2 separate regions of the Homo sapiens genome follow, and region 2 is linked to region 1. Evidence: promoter capture Hi-C in human tissues and cell types (Jung and others, 2019). All regions are on one chromosome and are shown on one strand. The core of a region is centred on a gene start or on the middle of the fragment in contact, and the rest is flanking DNA. Distances in the headings are between cores, read along the strand shown.

Evidence for each region. Contacts are between HindIII fragments. The study calls those that stand out against the background at their distance.
Region 2: a fragment that was not itself captured here is called in contact with the fragment with the promoter of PDIA2 in region 1 in 1 of the 25 tissues and cell types used here (aorta).

What each region holds. Positions count from the first base shown.
Region 1 is chr16:281,392-284,693 of GRCh38, reverse strand. It overlaps PDIA2 (protein disulfide isomerase family A member 2), which reads right to left and starts at 1,530. Exons shown (of 11, transcript NM_006849.4): 1 at 1,326-1,530; 2 at 101-307; 3 at 1-35. The coding sequence starts at 1,524. It overlaps ARHGDIG (Rho GDP dissociation inhibitor gamma), which reads right to left. Exons shown (of 6, transcript NM_001176.4): 2 at 2,769-2,948; 3 at 2,586-2,669; 4 at 2,321-2,397; 5 at 2,164-2,227; 6 at 1,684-2,079. The coding sequence ends at 1,880. RefSeq lists an enhancer at 3,205-3,302. The HindIII fragment of the contact is 12,890 bases long and covers 1-3,302 here.
Region 2 is chr16:96,512-99,946 of GRCh38, reverse strand. It overlaps NPRL3 (NPR3 like, GATOR1 complex subunit), which reads left to right. Exons shown (of 14, transcript NM_001077350.3): 9 at 1,646-1,802. Among named protein-coding and RNA genes, the nearest start is that of MPG, 20 kb to the right of the region's middle. The HindIII fragment of the contact is 4,700 bases long and covers 1-3,435 here.

The DNA of each region.
Region 1 (3,302 bases), core at 281-2,780:
CAGCCACTCGGCAATGCCCTCAGCGTCCCGTGGTCCTGCAGGGAGTCCCCCTCAGCCTCGGCCTGGCCACCGCCCCCCCAATGACCGGCCTGCCCCTCACCTGTGTACTCCTCCGGGTGCGTGCGGTTCCCATTGCGGAAGAACTTGAGCGTAGGGTACTCCGTCACACCAAACTCCTCAGCCAGCTCGCGCTGCGCGGGCCCATCCACCTTGGCCAGCGTGACCACCATTGACTCGGCCGCGAGCACGGCAGCTGCCTTGCTGTACTCGGGGGCCAGGGCCTGGCAGTGCCCACACCACGGGGCATCTGGGGGATGGGGCCGTGAGTGCCCCAGGCCACCACAACCCCAGGAGCACCCTCTCCACACCTGACAACCCAGCAGGGAACAAGCGTGCTGCTCCATTCTGCCCTGAGCCCTGGCCGTGGACAAGCCGAGCACCAGTGCCTCTTCGTGGCCCCCCAGGCTGCAGCACAGGGACCAGTAAGGCTTGGGAGAGCTTGAAAGACCACCCCCCCTCCCCCCACAGCCAGGCTCAGTGGCTCACGCCAGTAATCCCAGCACTTTGGGAGGCAGAGGCGGGCATATCACCTGAGGTTGGGAGTTCGAGACCAGCCTGACCAACATGGAGAAACCCCATCTCTACTAAAAATACAAAAAATATTAGCCGGGATTGGTTGCGTATGCCTATAATCCCAGCTACTCGGGAGGCTGAGGCAGGAGAATTGCTTGAACCTGGGAGGCGGAGGTTGCAGTGAGCCGAGATAGGGCCACTGCACTCCAGCCTGGGCGACAAAAGCAAAACTCCATCTCAAAAAATAAAAATAAAAAGACCCCTCCCTTTCGTGCCTTGTATGGCTGGGGCTCCCGGGCCCATGTGGCTGCCTGTGAAGGCCTCCTAGGCAAGAACAGTTCCTATGTGTGTCAAGGGTTGCGAAAAGACCACAGGGCACACACGTCAGGGACCTCCATGGGCCCCCAAAGCCTGGATACTGCCCGAGCCTCTGCAGAGTCTGTGGGATGCCCCTGGCAGCTGGAGGAGTGGCCGGCAAGGTGGTGACTCTGGCACCGTGGCCGCTGGCCGAGCAGGGAGGCACAGGTGTTCTCAAGTCCTGTGGGTACCCCCAGTACTACCACACTGCTCCTGCCTGCCCCAACCAGACCCCCAGGCCCCTCCTAGAGAGCTCCTGGGCACAGTGGGGGCAAGTGCCTGCGGGGAGGCCCCTCTTGGGCACATGCCCTGCATTTGCCGGCAAAGGGTGGGGCCCCCAGGTGGGCTCTGCCGGTCCCCCGCCGGTCCCCAGCCCCACTGGCCCCAGCACTCACAGAATTCCACCAGCAGGGCAGGGTGCTCCCGCAGGGCCAGGCCCAGGGTGTGGCGGCTCAGCACCAAGATCCCATCCTCCTTGGGGATTTCCTCCTCTGGAGGCTCCTCCGAGGGGCTCCTCGCTCCCTGTTCCTGACCCCATGGGCACGAAGCCCTGAGCAGCAGCAGCAGCAGTACAGGCAGAAGCTGGCGGCTCATGGTGCTGCCAGGGCGCGTGGGGCGGGGGCAGATAAGGGGGCCAGAAGCCAAGCAGCAGCTGCCACGTGGCACACAGGCCCAGTCCCAGCAAAGACAAGGCCCATGCGGCCGCCCCCGGCCCCCAGGGGAGGGGAGGCAGAAAGAGACGACACCCAGGGCACCGAGAGAGACAGGGCCATGTTTAATGGGACAGCTCAGGGGACAGCGCCAGGCCAGGGGGTCCCGGGACAGAGCAGGGGCAGCAGGGGCAGCAGGGGCAGCAGGGGAGGGTCTGGTCACTCACGGGGGGTGCTGGGGATGCTTGGGGGTCCCTGTGCAACAACTGAGGGAGGTAGGGGAGACACGGACTGGGGGTTCAGTCCTTCCAGTCCTGGCAGATGCAGAGACCCCACTCCCAGGACAGGTGGTGCGTCCTGTCATCGTCGGTGAAGAGGGACACCACCAGATAGGGGCCCCGCACCAGCGCACCCCTCGGCGCTTCCTCCACCGGAGTCACAAACTCATACTCCTGGGCGCTCGGGCCATAGCTGCCCACCATGTAGACGGTCTTGTCCACTAGGGAGGGCGAGGGCATCAGAGCTGTCCTCTGTCTGCCCCCGCTTCCCCCCCCCGCCCCGTTCCCCCCACCGCTGCCCTCACCGCGCAGGCCCCGGCGGTAGGTGTGGTGCAGACACTTGAGGCCGCTGACAATCTCCCTGTGGACCTGGGAACAGAGGCATTAGGGGTTCCTCTGGGGGCCAGGCCTCTGGCTGTTGCCCCCACCCCCATCCCCTCCGCCCATTGCCCCGGCTCTCACCTTGAAGGAGATCTTCACTCTGTAATCAACACCTTCCTTCAGGACAAACACCTGGTCCTTCAGAACAGCCAGGTCCCCTATTGGGGAAACCTCAGCTAGGGTCGGAACTCCCCTACAGGCTGAGACCTGCTCCAGGAGCCCCCACGTAGGGTGTGGTACCCATGAGGTGTGCGACTGTGATGGCCCAGGGCTCGGAACTCAGGGGTGCAGAAGCGTGCCTGGGAGGGCCCTACCTGTGTTCAGGGTGCAGCATCCTGCGAGTTACCTGTGAGATCCATGACGACGGGCCCCGGAGCCTGTTCCGACAGGAGTGTCAGCCTGGTCACCTGCACATTGGGCAGGCTTGGGTCTGAGGAGAAACTGGAAGTCTGCAGGATGCCCCCCACCCCCACCAGGCTCCTCACCAGCCCCCCAGACCCAGCCCTCCAAGCCTAGACCCCTGCCATACCCACGGCCGGTGGCAGGGGCCCCAGCAGCACCCGCTTGTACTTGGCCAGGCTCCTGTCGTCCGGGTCCAGCTGCCGGATCTCCAAGAGGCTCTTCCTCCCCGGCGCCCGGTACTCGGGCACAGCCTCATCCAACACCTCGTCCACTGCCGGCGGCCCACCCTCCTTGTCAGCCAGGAGGACTGGGGGTGGGGAGGGGCGTGAGCAGCAGCCACTAGCGGACCCTGGCATTCGAGCACCAGGCTGGAGCCCCCTCTGGCCAGCTGTACCTCCCACTATCCAAAGGGACTCAAGGGAAGCCTCTGGGGGCTCAGGGAGAGAGCGAGCAGAGAGAGCAGGGCGGCCTGGGGAGGTGCCGCACCGCACCCAGACCTTCAGGAGGGGCCTCCAGAGACCGCCAGGCCTGCAGCTCCTCTGGCCCAGATGTCCACAAGGGCCCCCTCCCTGACTCGGAGACCAAAGGGCGGGGGAGCGAAGACTTCAGATGAGGGCAGCCCAGGGTCAGGGGCTACCTGCTAGAGAGCAGCGGCCCTCGG
Region 2 (3,435 bases), core at 171-2,670, 180 kb after region 1:
TGTGTGTGAGAGAGAGACAGAGTTTTGATCTTATCGCCCAGGCTGGATTTCAGTAGTGCGATCCCGGCTCACCACTACGTCCACCTCCCAAGTTCAAGTGATTCTCCTGCCTCAGGCTCCCGAGTAGTTGGGATTACAGGCGCCCACTGCCATGCCTGGCTAATTTTTTTGGTACTTTTAGTAGAGACAGGGTTTCACCATGTTGGCCAGACTGGTCTCGAACTCCTGACCTCAGGTGATCCACTCATCGCTCATCTCAGCCTCCCAAAATATACTTTCTTAATTTAATTGACTTTTTTTTTTTTTTTTTTGAGATGTAGTCTTGCTCGGGGCTCAAGTGCAGTGGCACAGTCTCCACTCAGTGAAGCCTCTGTCTCCCGGGTTCAAGCGATTCTCCTGCCTCAGCCCCCTGAGTAGCTGGGATTATGGGTGCACACCACTACACCTGGCTAATTTTTGTATTTTTAGTAGAGATGGGGTTTCACCATGTTGGCCAGGCTCGTCTTGAACTCCTGACCTCGTGATCCACCCGCCTCGGCCTGCCAAAGTGCTGGGTTACAGGTGTTAGCCACCATGCCCTGGCAATTTAATTGATTTTCTGCAAGGAAAGAACTGAGCCCAGTCTTCTGGCACCACCTGTTCCCAAGTCCCCCAATACCTTGAACATTTTTTAATTATAAAAATATATCTGGGCACATTGCTGAAAATTTGGAAATGACAGAAAGCAAAGCGCTGCCTAGTTCCACCCTCCCCAGTCCGTGCTCTTTGCTTTCAATCCTAGCTAAGCATATTTTAATGTACTTTGGTCCCTAGTCTGTGAGGAGGATTTTGCTTTTCCCATATTTGGGACAATTTCCTTAGGAAAGATTCATTCATGTCTTCAATCAACAGATGTTTGCTGGGCGTCTCTGAGGTGGGATACAGAGTCCAGTCTTCGAGCCTTCCCCACTTTTGTCGTGTTTTTTTCCGAGGGTGACATAATCCTTGCAGGTTTTGTTTTTGTTGTTTTTGAGACAGAGTCTCACTCTGTCGCCAGGCTGGAGTGCAATGGCGCAATCTCGGCTCACTGCAAGCTCCGCCTCCCAGGCTCAAGTGATTCTCCTGCCTCAGCCTGCCGAGTAGCTGGGACCCCAGGTGGGTGCAACCACACCCGGATAATTTTTTTATTTTTAGTAGAGATGGGGTTTCACCATGTTGGCCAGGCTGGCCTCGAACTCCTGACCTCACGTGACCTGCCTGCCTTGGCCTCCCAGAGTGCCGGGATTATAGGCATGAGCCAGTCCTTGGCAGATTTTGTGAAGGCCTCCAAACAGACCACTGCCCTTTTCTCAAATCCCGCTCTTGGCCCTTCTCTCCGCAGTTAAGGGCCAGGAGGCTCCAGCTGCCTGTTTGTGTCCCAGGTGCATACCTGATGCACACCCGGTGCAGGACCTCGTGCAGGACCTGGTGCATACCTGGTGCAGGGTTCCCTGCACTTCGTATGTTCCGTGTGTTTGAGTCCCAGGTGCATACCTGGTGCATACCCGGTGCATACCTGGTGCAGGACCTGGTGCATACCCGGTGCATACCTGGTGCAGGACCTGGTGCATACCCGGTGCAGGGTTCCTGCACTTCGTGTGTTCCGTGACAGGTGATTGTTTTGCAGCCCCTACCATGCCCTGCTGCTGCTCAGTGATGAGAAGTCCTTGCTGGGTGAGCTTCCTATTGACTGCTCCCCTGCCCTAGTGCGGGTGATCAAGACCACATCTGCTGTGAAGAACCTGCAGCAGCTAGCCCAAGATGCGGACCTGGCCTTGCTGCAGGTATAGCTCTGGAGGCCCAGATGGGTGGCATGTGGCGGTGCTGGGGCATCAGGAAAGGCAGGCCGCCTGCCACAGTACATCCACAGGGGCTGTGTCCAGCTGAGAGCCGCGGCACAGCCCACCATGGGGTGGGGCCAGTCCCTGGGATGGCTGGAGGTTTTGGCATCTGAGTCAGACCTGGGTTCAGGGCTGGCTTTGTGAGTGAGCCACGGGACTGACTTGTTCTTCTGTCTCAGAGAGGTAAGGCGAGTCTGTGAGAGAAAGGACTGGGGTGCTTGCAGTCCTGGAGGTTGAGGCACCAGAGCTAGGGGGTGGGCAGGGCAGCAGCGGGCAGGGCCATGGGGGTCTCACAGTGGTGCATGAACAACATACGGGAACTAAGGGCAGGAAGCTTGGATGCGGGGCCCTCCCATGTGCAGAACAGAGACCTAACCTGGTGGCCTTACGCCCCTGTGTGTGCACATGTGTTGGCCTGTGCACTCTGTACAAGATGCCACGTCCTTGCTGAGCCACATGCTTATGGGCCTGTCCATGCAGAGGGCTGCCCTTTCTGATTAGATGGAGGGCCCCTCAGCCTCGTCTGCGGATCTGGTTGGAGTGTGGGAGGAAAAGCGCAGGCAAGGCTGGGCACGGTGGCTCATGCCTGTCATCCTAGCCCAGGACTTTGAGACCAGCCTGAGCAACATGGCAAAACCCCGTCTCTACAAAAAATACAAAAAAAAAAAAAAAAAAAATAGCTGGGTGTGGTGGCGTGCACCTGTAGTCCCAGCTACTTGGGGGTATGAGGTGTGAGGATCAATTGAGCCTGGGAGGCAGAGGTTGCAGTTAGCTGAGATTGTGCCACTGTACTCCAGCCTGGGCGACTCTGTTTCCAAAAAAAAAAAAAGCACGGGGAGAAATCAGAAGCAGGGGCTGCTGATGGGGTGGCCAACAGGCCATGGGATCAGCTGTGGCTGCTAGTCATGTGGGCGTGGCCCAGAGCCACGGGACCATTGAAATACTGCCTGAGGGTGGGAGCAGGTGGTGCCTGTGGGTGGCGCCCTCGTCTGGTGGCGGTGTGCACAGCATGGCCACCAGGGGGCAGCAGAGGCTGCCGAGGAACACAGGCGTGAGGTGGGCCCGCCTGGGTCCCTCTGGCTGAGCTTCCATGCTCTTTTGGCCTGTGAAACAGGTCTCTGCTTAGCACGTTAGGGGAACTTGTCCAACAAGGCCTGACTCTCAGGCCACTTTTCCCCGAAAGCAGCCTTTTTGGATTCTGTCTTTGAGAGTAAGTCTCCCGCCTCTGTATCTCAGGACCCTTTATCTATCCTCTGTGAGAGCACTTACCAAATTGTGCCCTTGTATTTCTTTTTTCTTTTCTGAGACAGGTTCTTGCTCTGTCTCCCAGGCTGGCATGTGGTGGTGCCATCATGATCCACCCAGGCTCAAGCATCCTCCCAAGTAGCTGGGACTACAGGTGTGCGCCTGGCTAATATTTTTTTTTTTTTTTTTTTTTTGGTAGAGACGGGGTTTCCCTATGTTGCCCTGGCTGGCCTCATACTCCTGGGCTCAAGTGATCATCGCACCTTGGCCTCCTAAAGGGCTGGTATTACAGGCATGAGCCACCATGCCCAGCTGTGCCTTTGGACTTCAT